Regions from separate parts of the Homo sapiens genome. Here regions 2 and 3 are each linked to region 1. Evidence: promoter capture Hi-C in 16 types of primary human blood cells and fetal thymus (Javierre and others, 2016). All regions are on one chromosome and are shown on one strand. Each heading gives the region's core, a stretch centred on a gene start or on the middle of the fragment in contact. The rest is flanking DNA. Distances are from core to core; before and after follow the strand shown. Region 1 holds the start of C17orf107 (chromosome 17 open reading frame 107). Region 2 overlaps LOC105371499 (a long non-coding RNA gene). Region 3 has its middle 13 kb from the start of CXCL16.

Region 1 (2,500 bases), core at 1-2,500:
CGGAGCCCCCGCGGGGGTGTGGCCAGTGTGAAGGGTGGGGGCGTGGCCAAAACCCAGAGACCCCGGGAAAAGCTCTGGCTGTCTCGCCCCGCCCTGGGCTTTATTCGGACGCTGGGTGGGGCTGGTACGGGGATGGAGTCCCTGGTCCGCCGTCCTCCTCACTGCTGCTGGACGTCACCTGGAGGTCTCCCGAGTAGCTCTCTTGGGGGACAGTCCGGCTCAGTGCCTCCCTAGCCCCGCCGCCTCTGGCCCCTAACTCACCCCGTGTCCTGAGCTCACCGGTTCTCCGGGGATTCCGAGGCCTAGCTGCTGTTGCGACTGTCGCAGGAATGAGGCAGACCCCTGCAGACCCCGTCCACACAGGCATAGCCATGCTCCCTGGACTAGGAGCCGGGCGCTGGCGCCCACCGCAGCCCCAGCTTGCCGAACCCCCTGCCCTGCGGCTTGGGCTACCCGGCTCAGCGCTGCACCCGGATCCCTGCCGTCTGGGGCTGGGCCCGCGCTGCCGTCTAGTCGCCGCGCCTCCTGCTGCAGCCACAGGGCTGAGATCTGCATTGGGGGCACAGGGGTTAGCGGGGAGGCAGAGGTCCTTGTTCCCGCTACCCGATCGCCGCGTATCCTAAGCCCCCCAGTACCCCACCTCTAACAAGGTGGTGCCGAAGCTCACGAGGCTGGCTGTGGCTTCTCTCAACACCAGCCCCAGGGTGGGCTTCGGGGCAGGCAGCATCCCCTGCATCTTCGGTTCGGGTGGCTCCAGGGACTTCAGCTCTCTGAACCTCTGCTCCAGATATTCATGGGCTGCGGCCACGGAGAGTTCCAGGGAAGACAGAAGCGGGGGCTGGAGGGCCACCTGGAGAAGGAGCAGAGCAGTAGAGTAGCAGGGCAGGGGTCACAGGGGCGAACAGGAGACCTACCCAGAAGGTCTCGAGGTGCAGCCCTTGGCGGGCGTAGCCTCACCTCGGTGGAGCTGTGGAAGTGGTAGATCCACATCAGGGTGTCCAGGGAGCTGGGGGTCCCCTTCATGGCCGCCACAAGTGGTAGGACAGGAGAAGGGCTGGGGGACGCGTCTGTCGTCGTGTAGGGGGCGCAGCTGGAGGGCGTAACCAGCCCGTACCAGGAGAAGCCGTGTTTGTGAGGTCAGCGCGCGGCGCCTTCGGTAGCTGGGAGGAGGAACGGTGATGTCATGCCTTCCGGGCTCCTCAGGTTCCTTATTTTCGTCATGGTGGTCGCCACGCTCATTGTCATGAATTGCGTCATCGTGCTCAACGTGTCCCAGCGGACGCCCACCACCCACGCCATGTCCCCGCGGCTGCGCCACGTAAGCGCGGAGGGGGCGGTGCAGCCCGGGTCGGGGTGGGGCTTCGTACTAACCTCGTCCCCTAAGCCCCGCCCCTGCCCCAGGTTCTCCTGGAGCTGCTGCCGCGCCTCCTGGGCTCCCCGCCGCCGCCCGAGGCCCCCCGGGCCGCCTCGCCCCCAAGGCGGGCGTCGTCGGTGGGCTTATTGCTCCGCGCGGAGGAGCTGATACTGAAAAAGCCACGGAGCGAGCTCGTGTTTGAGGGGCAGAGGCACCGGCAGGGGACCTGGACGGGTGAGCACAGTGGCCCTGGCCCGGGGGGCCGCGCGGGGTGCCTGCCAGGGGGGAGGCTCCTAAGGCCCACCCCGGTGTTTTCCCCGCCAGCTGCCTTCTGCCAGAGCCTGGGCGCCGCCGCCCCCGAGGTCCGCTGCTGTGTGGATGCCGTGAACTTCGTGGCCGAGAGCACGAGAGATCAGGAGGCCACCGGCGAGGTGGGACAGGAGCCAGAGGCGGGTGGAGCGAGGCAGAGGCCCACCACTGTCTCCCATGCCGCTGGCTCCTGCAGCTGCCTCTTTACTGACTGTGCCGACCCTTCCCCAGGAAGTGTCCGACTGGGTGCGCATGGGGAATGCCCTTGACAACATCTGCTTCTGGGCCGCTCTGGTGCTCTTCAGCGTGGGCTCCAGCCTCATCTTCCTCGGGGCCTACTTCAACCGAGTGCCTGATCTCCCCTACGCGCCGTGTATCCAGCCTTAGCTCGCACCGACTTCAATTTCCCACCCATCTCCAGTAGGAAATTGATTTTGAAAAAGTAGGCTGCCGCCACCACGGCATTATGATCCCTTCCCCCTGCTGATCAATCTGCAGTTTGTGAACTTCACAAGAATGGTGTGTGCCCGTTCCCTGGCGTGTGTAGGCCTGGCCGCAGTCCAGGGGTCAGCAGGAGGAAAGGGTTCACATAGGCTCTCAGGTGCCAGTCTTCCAGAAAGCAAGGACTGCCCTTCATTCAGCCTTGCTGACCTCCCAGCCTTTCTAAGGCTCAGCCCCACGGGACTCTGGTGGCTGCCAGCTTGTGAGCTATCTATCTATATTCATTTCATAGCCAAACAGGAGACCCCTTTGCAGGACTTGCACACAGGGAGGCTGTAGCCAGGAAACCCTCTTCTTCCCTGGTCTGGCTCTGCTGGAGCGGGTGGGAACCAAACA
Region 2 (4,444 bases), core at 574-3,073, 250 kb after region 1:
GAGTCTCGCTCTGTCGCCCAGGCTGGAGTGCAGTGGTGTGATCTGGGCTCACTGCAACCTCCACCTCCCGGGTTCAAGCAATTCTCCTGTCTCAGCCTCTCCGGTTGGTGGGACTACAGGTGTGCACCACTACTCCCAGCTAATTTTTGTATTTTTAGTTTTTTCATAGAGACAGGGTTTCACCATGTTGTCCAGGCTGGTCTCAAACTCCTGACCTCAGGTGATCCACCCGCCTTGGCCTCCCAAACTGCTGGGATTATAGACATGAGCCACTGCGCCTGGCCAACACTTCTTGAGACAAGGAGTGACTTAGTTCATCTCTCCAGGCCTTCTTCTACTTTGTCTTTGACTTCTGCATGTCTGTTCCAGTTATTGCATAATGAATCACTCCAAAATGACGACTGAAGACATCAATCATTATTTTACTATTAGCGTTTAGAGTTTTGACAATTGACAGGGGCTCAGCTAAATTATCCTTACTTGGAGACTTTCATGTGGTTGTAGTTAGACAGTGGCTGAGGCTGGAGTCATCTGGAAGACTTCCTAAGTCATACTGGTGGTCAGTACTGGCTTTTTACCTGGATCTAGAGTTAGGGCTGTCGGCTGGGACATCCACACATGGTCTCTCCATGCCACCTGGGTTTCCTCACAGCATGGTGACCGTTCCAAGAGTGAGCAAAGGCTCACTCACAGAGTTAGCAAGAGTGATCCCAAGGCAGCAAAGTGAAAGGAATTGCATGGCATTTGACCTAGTCTCAGAAGTCACGGCCAGGCGCAGTGGCTCACGCCTGTAATCCCAGCACTTTGGGAGGCTGAGGTGGGCGGATCACGAGGTCAAGAGATCGAGACCATCCTGGCCAACATGGTGAAACCCCGTCTCTACTAAAAAGACAAAAATTAGCCAGGTGTGGTGGTGCATGCCTGTAATCCCAGCTACTTGGGAGGCTGAGGCAGGAGAATCACTTGAACTTGGGAGATGGAGGTTGCAGTGAGCCAAGATTGCGACATTGCACTCCAGCCTGGGCAACAAGAGCGAAACTCTGTCTCAAAAAAAAAAAAAAAAAAAAAAATATATATATATATATATATATATATATAGATTCAATGCAATCCCAATTTTAAAAAAAAGGATTTTAATTATTTATTTTAAGACAGAGTCTCACTCTGTTGTCCAGGCTGGAGTACAATGGCATGATCTTGGCTCACTGCAACCTCCGCCTTCTGGGTTCAAGCAATCCTCCTGCTTCAGCTCCTGAGTAGCTCGGATTACAGGTGCCCGCCACCATGCCCAGCTAATTTTTATATTTTTAGTAGAGACGGAGTTTCACCATGTTGGCCAGGCTGGTCTCGAACTCCTGGGGTTAAGTCACCTTCATGCCTCAGTCTCCCAAAGTGCTGGTATTACAGACGTGAGCCACTGCACCCGGCCAAAAATACAGTAGGAATTTATGCTAATAATTTTTATCAATATCAATAAGCAGATTGCAAAATTTATAGCAAAAGGCTAAGGTAATGGAATATCTAAAATAGTTTTGGAAATGAAGAACGATGTTTCAAGACTAGTACTACCTGATTTCAATACTTATAAAGCTACAGTCATCAAGTCAGTGTAGTATTGGTGGAATGATAAGCACGTAGATCATGGAGAAAAATAGCCCAAACATAGGCATAGGTGTGGTGAAGTGATTTTTGGCAAGGATGCAAAGGCAATTCAATGGAGGAATCAAGAAATGGTGCTGGAATGATATTTGCATATGAATATTCATATGCAAAAAATGAACTTGACCCATTCTTCATACCTCATACAAAATTTAACTCAATGGATCACAGACTTAAATATAAAGTGTGAAATCATAAACTTTCTAGAGAAAACAGGAGAGAATCTTTATGGTCTTTTGTTAGGCATAGGCAAAACACAATCCTTAATGAAAAAAATTGATGAATTGTACTTCATCATAATTCAAAACTACTCTGCTAAAGACACTGCTAAGAGATAAAAAGGCATCTTCACTCTGAGATGCTGCTTGTGGGGAGAAAATGTTTGTAAATCACACGTCTTTCAAAGGACATAATATCTGGCGGGACGCAGTGGCTCACATCTGTAATCCCAGCACTTTGGGAGGCCGAGGAGGGCGCATCACCTGAGGTCAAGAGTTCAAGACCACCAGCCTGGCTAACATGGTGAAACCCTGCCTCCACTAAAAATGCAAAAATTAGCCGGGGCATGGTGGCACATGCGTGTAATTCCAGCTACTTGGGAGGCTAAGGCAAGAGAATCGCTTGAACCGGGGAGGTGGAGATTGCGGTGAGCCGAGATTGCGTCACTGCACTCCAGCCTGGGTAATAGAGTGAGACTCCATCTCAAAAAAAAAATAAAAATAAATAAATAAAAAAGGACTTAATATCTAAAATATTGCTCCACGCTGGGCAGACTTACGCAAACCTATCTGCAAAAGTCTGAGGAAGCTGAGAGGCCGAAGAAAGAGGCTGACATATCTAGTTTCTCAGAAACATTTAATAGAAACTTAGGAACAGAAGCCACATCTGTGTCTCAGGTGGTGGTGAGACAAGATCGTGGATCCCCTCTCCACTACTCCCTAGACCCAGGCCTTATATATCATACGGAAAGGGTGCATGCTTCAGAAGGGATGTATAGGACAATTGCTGAAGGGCAGGCTTTATGGTAAGTACATACTCTTACACAAGGAACAATAGGTAAACTGGAAATCTTACAGGCTCCTTGAACTGTGGTTAATCAAAAGTCTACATGAGGCCGGGCACGGTAGCTCACGCCTGGAATCCTAGCACTTTGGGAGGCCAAGGCAGGTGGATCACTTGACGTCAGGAGTTTGAGACCAGTCTGGCGCATACTGGTCTCAGTGTGAACATAGTGAACCCTGTCTCTACTAAAAATACAAAAATTAGCTGGGCGTGATGGTGCATCCCTGTAATTCCAGCTACTTGGGAGGCTGAGGCAGGAGAATCACTTGAACCCAGGAGGCAGAGGTTGCGGTGAGCCGAGATCGCACCACTGCACTCCAGCCTGGGTGACAAAATGAGACTCTGTCTCTACAAAAAAAAAAAAAAAAAAAAGTCAACATAGCTGCTTAGCATCCAAGCTGGAGTTGCTCCACAAATATATAAATAACTCAAAACTCAACAACGAGGAAAAAAAAAAATCCACACAAGTTTGAATAGATACTTCACCAAAGTAGATATACAAATGTCAAATAAACACTTGAAAAGATGCTCAGTATAGTCAGTCATTAGCAAAATGTAAATTAAAACCATAACGGCATACCAGTGTATACCTATTAGAATGGCTAATCCCTCCCCACTCCCCCACAAACCATCCCTTGCATCCAAAACAAACAGTACCAAGTACTGGTGAGAATACAGAGCAGCTGGAACTGTCATACATCGCTAGTGAGAGACTGACTATACAAAAGGACAATGGACAGAATCAAATATAAACACAGACCTTTGTCCCATAACCTCTGTAGCAACCAGCCCTGGAAGGAAGCCAAACAAATCCTCTACAGCAATTGGCCTCAAACAGTAAGGGCTTGGTCAATAACTGCCAGATTTCTTCATTTCTGTCTCCACTTCCACTTAGGACCAACTGAGAAAGGCAAATATGCACCCCTAATCAATCATATAGCCTGCTCTGCTTCTAGTTCTGCTTATAGCTTCTCGGCGCCAACAGCCTCCAATCAGCTTGTTCTTAGGAAATCAGAAGTGGGAGGACCACTGAACCCCACTCCCTGACATCTTGATTGTTGAGAATTTGCCCTTAGAGGCTGAGCCAGATTCACATCAATTTCTGCTCCAAAATCTAAGGTGGTTCCTCCAGGAACAACTCTGTTTTATTTTATTTTCTAAGGTAGAAGATACCCTCTCCCTCTCTTGTGTGAATTCAGGAAGATCTTCAGCTTATTCTGAAGTCTGAATTTTCCCAGTGAAGCTCCTCTGTAAATTACCATCTTCCTCTAACCGATCCTTGTTTTCCAAACTGCATTCCATATTATTTGGTGCTTTTGTTCATCTAAAGCTCCTCTAGCCTTAACCCACACGGGCAGAGTGGTTTTTCCTCCTGCTTGTGGGAGTATGTTTATCTGAAGTCTGATGTCCAAACCCTGTATCTTTTTGAGAATTGTTGGGCAATGGTAGAGTTGAAGGCATTGACAGCTTGGAGGTCAATTTCAATTTTTAACACTGGGCAGAAAAAAATTCCACTGATCGTTTGCTTCTTTCCCTCAGGCCTACATTTCAGTGACATGTTCTTTGTTTTGTTTTGAGACACAGTCTCGCTCTGTTGCCCAGGCTGGAGTGCAGTGGCGCAATCTCGGCTCACTGCAAGCTCCACCTCCCAGGTTCAAGCCATTCTCCTGCCTCAGCCTCCCAAGTAGCTGGGATCACAGGTGCGCACCATCATGACTGGCTA
Region 3 (4,444 bases), core at 1,153-3,652, 150 kb after region 1:
GGGATGAAAAGGTGGATAGTGGCGGGATGCCTGTCCTCAGGAGGTTGAAATGGGGCAGTTACTGATCATCACAGAGTCTACGGTTTGCTGTGGGAGTGCGTGGCTGAGGTGGGGTGGAGGAAAAAATTGTACCGAAGTGCAGAGGACAAGGAACTGAAGCGGGGTGGCGGGGATGGTTGGATTGCCTAGGTGGATGTCTGAGTCCACACAAATGGAGACGTGATTAATGGTGGAGACGTAAATTTAAGGCAAATGCTTAAGCCTTTGATGAAGCTGGTAGATGTTGGAAGATGATTGCAACAAGGAGGGGTAACGGATGCTACAGTGTGTTGGCATGTGCTTTAAAGACGCTTTGGCACAGGAAGACAAATATCACACTGGTGTGGTTGCTCACGCCTGTAATCCCAGCACTTTGGCAGGTTGAGGCAGTTGGATCATTTGAGGTCAGGAGTTTGAGACCAGCCTGACCAGCATGGTGAAAACCCGTCTCTACTAAAATACAAAAATTAGCTGGGTGTGGTGGCAGGCACCTGTAATCTCAGCTACTCAAGAGGCTGAGGAAGGAGAATTGCTTGAACCCAGGAGGGGGAGGTTGCAGTGAGCCGAAATCACGCCACTGCACTCCGGCCTGGGCAACAGAGTGAGACTCCCTCTAAAAAAAAATTAAAATTAAAAAGAAAAAAAGAAAGACAAACATCACATGTTCTCACTTATTTGTGGGGTCTAAAAATCAAAACAATTGAACCCACGGAGATAGGGAGTAGAAGGGTGGTTACCAGAGGCTGGGAAGGGTAGTGTGTGTGTGGGGTAGGGGCAGGGAGGAGAGGGGGGTTGTGGGGGCGGTAGGGATGGTTAATGGGTACAAAAAATAGTTTGAATAATGTCTAGTATTTGATAGCACAACAGAGTGACTACAGTCAATAATAATTTAATTGTATATTTAAAAATAACTAAAAGTATAATTGGATTGTTTGTAACACAAAGGATAAATGCTTAAGGGGGATAAATGCTTTTATGATGTGATTATTACACATTACATTCTTGTACCAAAACATCTCTTGTACCCCATAAATATATATACCTACTATGAACCCAGAAAAATTAAAAATAAAAAAATTTAAAACAACAGATGCCTTTGTTTTGTTTTGGAGAGAGGAGAAATGTTTTGGAAGGGACAGCTGCCTCACTGCAGGTATGTGGAGGGTGGGAGAAAAAGGAAATAGCTGCCTCCTTGGAGCGTTGCAAGGGAGCAATGTCTTTGCGGGAAGAGCCAGGTTCCTATGAGAGCAAGAAGGCAAACAAAACTGAGAGAAGAGCTTGATGATTTGGGGATTTTGTTTTGCGAACATACTTTAGGTTTCCAAGGGTGCAATGAAAGGATTTGGGGCAGGGTGGAGAGGAGAAAGGAGAGTGAACCCAAATGGAGATGAACGGAGTCCTTTGGGGTAAGTCTGGGTGAAGATGCCTGCCCTGGCCACTGTGGACTTCTGGGGTGCCCACAACTAACAGGGAGGTAAAGCATGATGTTCTTTTTGCAGAAGGTGGGAAGTAGTTGTAGTTGCAGTCCATGGCTTAGGGTTGACCTCTTATTTTGCAATAGTAATAACACAACAACTTATACCATTTATTAAATACTTATCATGCTGAGAACTCTTCTAAGAATTTGCATTTATTAATTATTAATTATTTATTTGCATAATTTAAATGCAAATTATTTATTTGCATTTATTAATTTATTAATTGCCTTTGGTCTCACAAGTTCTGTGGAATAAGTACAGTTAATACCCCATTTTACAGGTGAGGAGACAGACACGGAGAGCTTGAGTCACTTATCCAGTGTGTGAAGTTAACTTGGGAGCCTTGATTTAAACTCAGGTGATGTGGACCCCTAAGCCTCAAACTTTATCTTTTTTTTTTTTTGAGACGGAGTCTCACTCTGTCTCCCAGGCTGGAGTGCAGTGGCACAATCTCGGCTCACTGAAACCTCCGCCTCCCAGGTTCAAGTGATTCTCCTGCCTCATCAGCCTCCTGAGTAGCTGGGATTACAGGCATGCACCACCATGTCCAGCTAATTTTTGTATTTTTAGTAGAGACAGGGTTTCACCATATTGGTCACGCTGGTCTCGAACTCCTGACCTCAGGCAATCCACCCACCTTGGCCTCCCAAAGTGCTGGGATTACAGGCGTAAGCCACTGTGCCCGGCAAACTTTATCATGTTCTATTCCATCTCCCATTATAGTGGTGAAGTGGGCAGTAGTGATCTTACCTGAAGCTCTTGGAGCCCTGTGGGTCTCCCTTAAGTTCCTTCATGTATTTCAAAGAAAACTTGACAGAGTGTTTCTGATTCTTTGCATGGCCAATCATCAATGCCTGGTATAAGAGAGACTGGCTCCAGCTGGGCGAGGCAGCTGGTGCCTATAATCCCAGCACATTGGGAGGCTGAGGCAGGAGGATTGCTTGAGGCCAGGAGTTTGAGACCAGCCTGAGCAACATAGCAAAACCCTGTCTCTACTAAAAATACAAAAAATTAGCTGGGTGTGGTGGTGCGCACCTGTAGTCCCAGTTACTTGGGAGGCTAAGGAGGAGAATTACCTGAGTCCGGGAGGTTGGGGTGGCAGTGAGCCAAGACTGCATCACTGCACTGCAGCCTGGGCAACAGAGTGAGACCCTGTTTCAAAGAGACAGAGAGAGGCCGGTCGCAGTGGCTCACGCCCGTAATCCTTCCACTTTGGGAGGCTGAAGCAGGCAGATCACCTGAGGTCAGGAGTTCGAGACCAGCCTGGACAACATGGTGAAACCCCATCTCTACTAAAAATACAAAAATTAGCCTGGTGTGGTGGTGTGTGCCTGTAGCCCCAGTTACTTGGGAGGCTGAGGCACGAGAATCTCTTGAACCCGGGAGGTGGATGTGGCAATGAGCTGAGATCCCACCACTGCATTCCAGCCTGTGTGACAGAGCAAGAGTATGTCTCAAAAAAGAAAAAAAAAAAAAGAAAAAAAAAAGAGCGAGACAGAGACAGGCTTCTAGGAAGGAAGGGCTTCCATAGCAAACATTTCTTAACTATCCCAGGAAATTGCCTCATTTTCCCAGAAGCGGAATGGCGAAGGGGTTAAAAGTGCATATTCTGGAGACAGATTGCCTGTGTTTGTTCACAGCCTACTTGGTTACTTTATCTTCACCTCCCTGTGCCTCAGTTTTCTCATCTGTAAAATGGGGGGTAATAAACACCTGACTTAAGTTTGTTGTGTGAGGAATAGACTGATAAATGCCAAGTGATTAGAACACAGTCTGGCACAGAGTAAGCGCTATATGAACGTTTGCTACTTGTAATTTCCATGTCAGACCAGTAAAGTTTGGATCTCAGAAGAGTTTCTCCAGAGTCTAATTCTAAATCTGCTCGTGACCACCCAGCTAGTAACCAGATGAGTCCAGTTTCAAACCAGGTTTGTTTAAATTCATAGTTCATGGTTCACCTGTCAGCAATTGATTGAACAACTAGACAAAAACCAGTAAGGAGATAGAAGAACTCAACAATGTCATAAACAAACAGGATGTAGTGAATACTTATAGATCATTCCACCCAATGACAGGAGAATACGTATTCAAGTACTCATGCAACAGATACCAATATAGTGCATATATCCCGGGCCATCAAACCAACCCCAATACATTTTAAAAAATTGAAATTGGCCAGGCGCTGTGGCTCACGCCTGTAATCTAAGCACTTTGGGAGGCCACGGAGGGTGGATCCCCTGAGGACGGGAGTTCGAGACTAGCCTGGGCAACATGGTGAAACCCTATCTGTGCTAAAAATACAAAATTAGACCGGGCACGGTGGCTCAAGCCTGTAATCCCAGCACTTTGGGAGGCCGAGGCGGGCAGATCACGAGGTCAGGAGATCGAGGCCATCCTGGCTAACACGGTGAAACCCCATCTCTACTAAAAGCACGAAAAGAAAAAAATTAGCCAGGTGCGGTGGCGGGCGCTTGTAGTCTCAAAACAAAAACAAAAACAAAAACAAAACAAAACAAAACAAAACAAAACCCAAGAAAGCAAAAACAAAACAAAAAAACCCACAAAAACACAAAATTAGCCAGGCGTGGTGATGCATGCCTGTAATCTCAGCTACTAGGTAGGCTGAGGCAGAAGAATCGCTTGAACCCGGGAGGCGGAGGTTGCAGTGAGACGAGATTGCACCATTGCACTCCAGCCTGGGCGACAAGAGCGAAACTCTGTCTCAAAAAAATAAAAGAAAAAAGAAAAACGATTGAAGTCATACAGAGCCACATTTTTGGGTTCCTTGGGATTCTCAATGCCTCTCAAAACCACACTGTGTCCCCTGAGAAATGGGGGGATCCCTGCCCCCCGTGTGACACTGATTCCGGGGATTTAGGTGCTGTGCTGTGGTGTTTGTGCCCTGCTGACCTTCCAGAGGCTCTATA

Evidence for each region. Contacts are between HindIII fragments. The CHiCAGO score rates a contact against its expected background, and 5 or more counts as called.
Region 2: a contact is called between a fragment that was not itself captured here and the fragment with the promoter of C17orf107 in region 1, in 1 of 17 cell types (M0 macrophages). The highest score is 6.1, in M0 macrophages.
Region 3: a contact is called between a fragment that was not itself captured here and the fragment with the promoter of C17orf107 in region 1, in 7 of 17 cell types (total CD4 T cells, M0 macrophages, monocytes and 4 more). The highest score is 6.3, in total CD4 T cells.

The regions. Positions count from the first base shown.
Region 1 is chr17:4,898,286-4,900,785 of GRCh38, reverse strand. It overlaps C17orf107 (chromosome 17 open reading frame 107), which reads right to left and starts at 1,250. Exons shown (of 3, transcript NM_001145536.2): 1 at 958-1,250; 2 at 641-850; 3 at 1-549. The coding sequence starts at 1,023. The coding sequence ends at 253. CHRNE (cholinergic receptor nicotinic epsilon subunit) reads left to right here. Exons shown (of 12, transcript NM_000080.4): 9 at 1,204-1,318; 10 at 1,402-1,588; 11 at 1,679-1,785; 12 at 1,895-2,500. The coding sequence ends at 2,050. RefSeq lists an enhancer at 864-1,173 and silencers at 1,374-1,483, 1,504-1,653. The HindIII fragment of the contact is 47,734 bases long and covers 1-2,500 here.
Region 2 is chr17:4,647,995-4,652,438 of GRCh38, reverse strand. All of the region lies in intron 2 of LOC105371499 (a long non-coding RNA gene), which reads right to left. Among named protein-coding and RNA genes, the nearest start is that of ALOX15, 8.5 kb to the right of the region's middle. RefSeq lists silencers at 2,640-2,855, 4,031-4,325. The HindIII fragment of the contact is 7,362 bases long and covers 1-4,444 here.
Region 3 is chr17:4,750,844-4,755,287 of GRCh38, reverse strand. No RefSeq gene overlaps it. Among named protein-coding and RNA genes, the nearest start is that of CXCL16, 13 kb to the right of the region's middle. The HindIII fragment of the contact is 7,394 bases long and covers 1-4,444 here.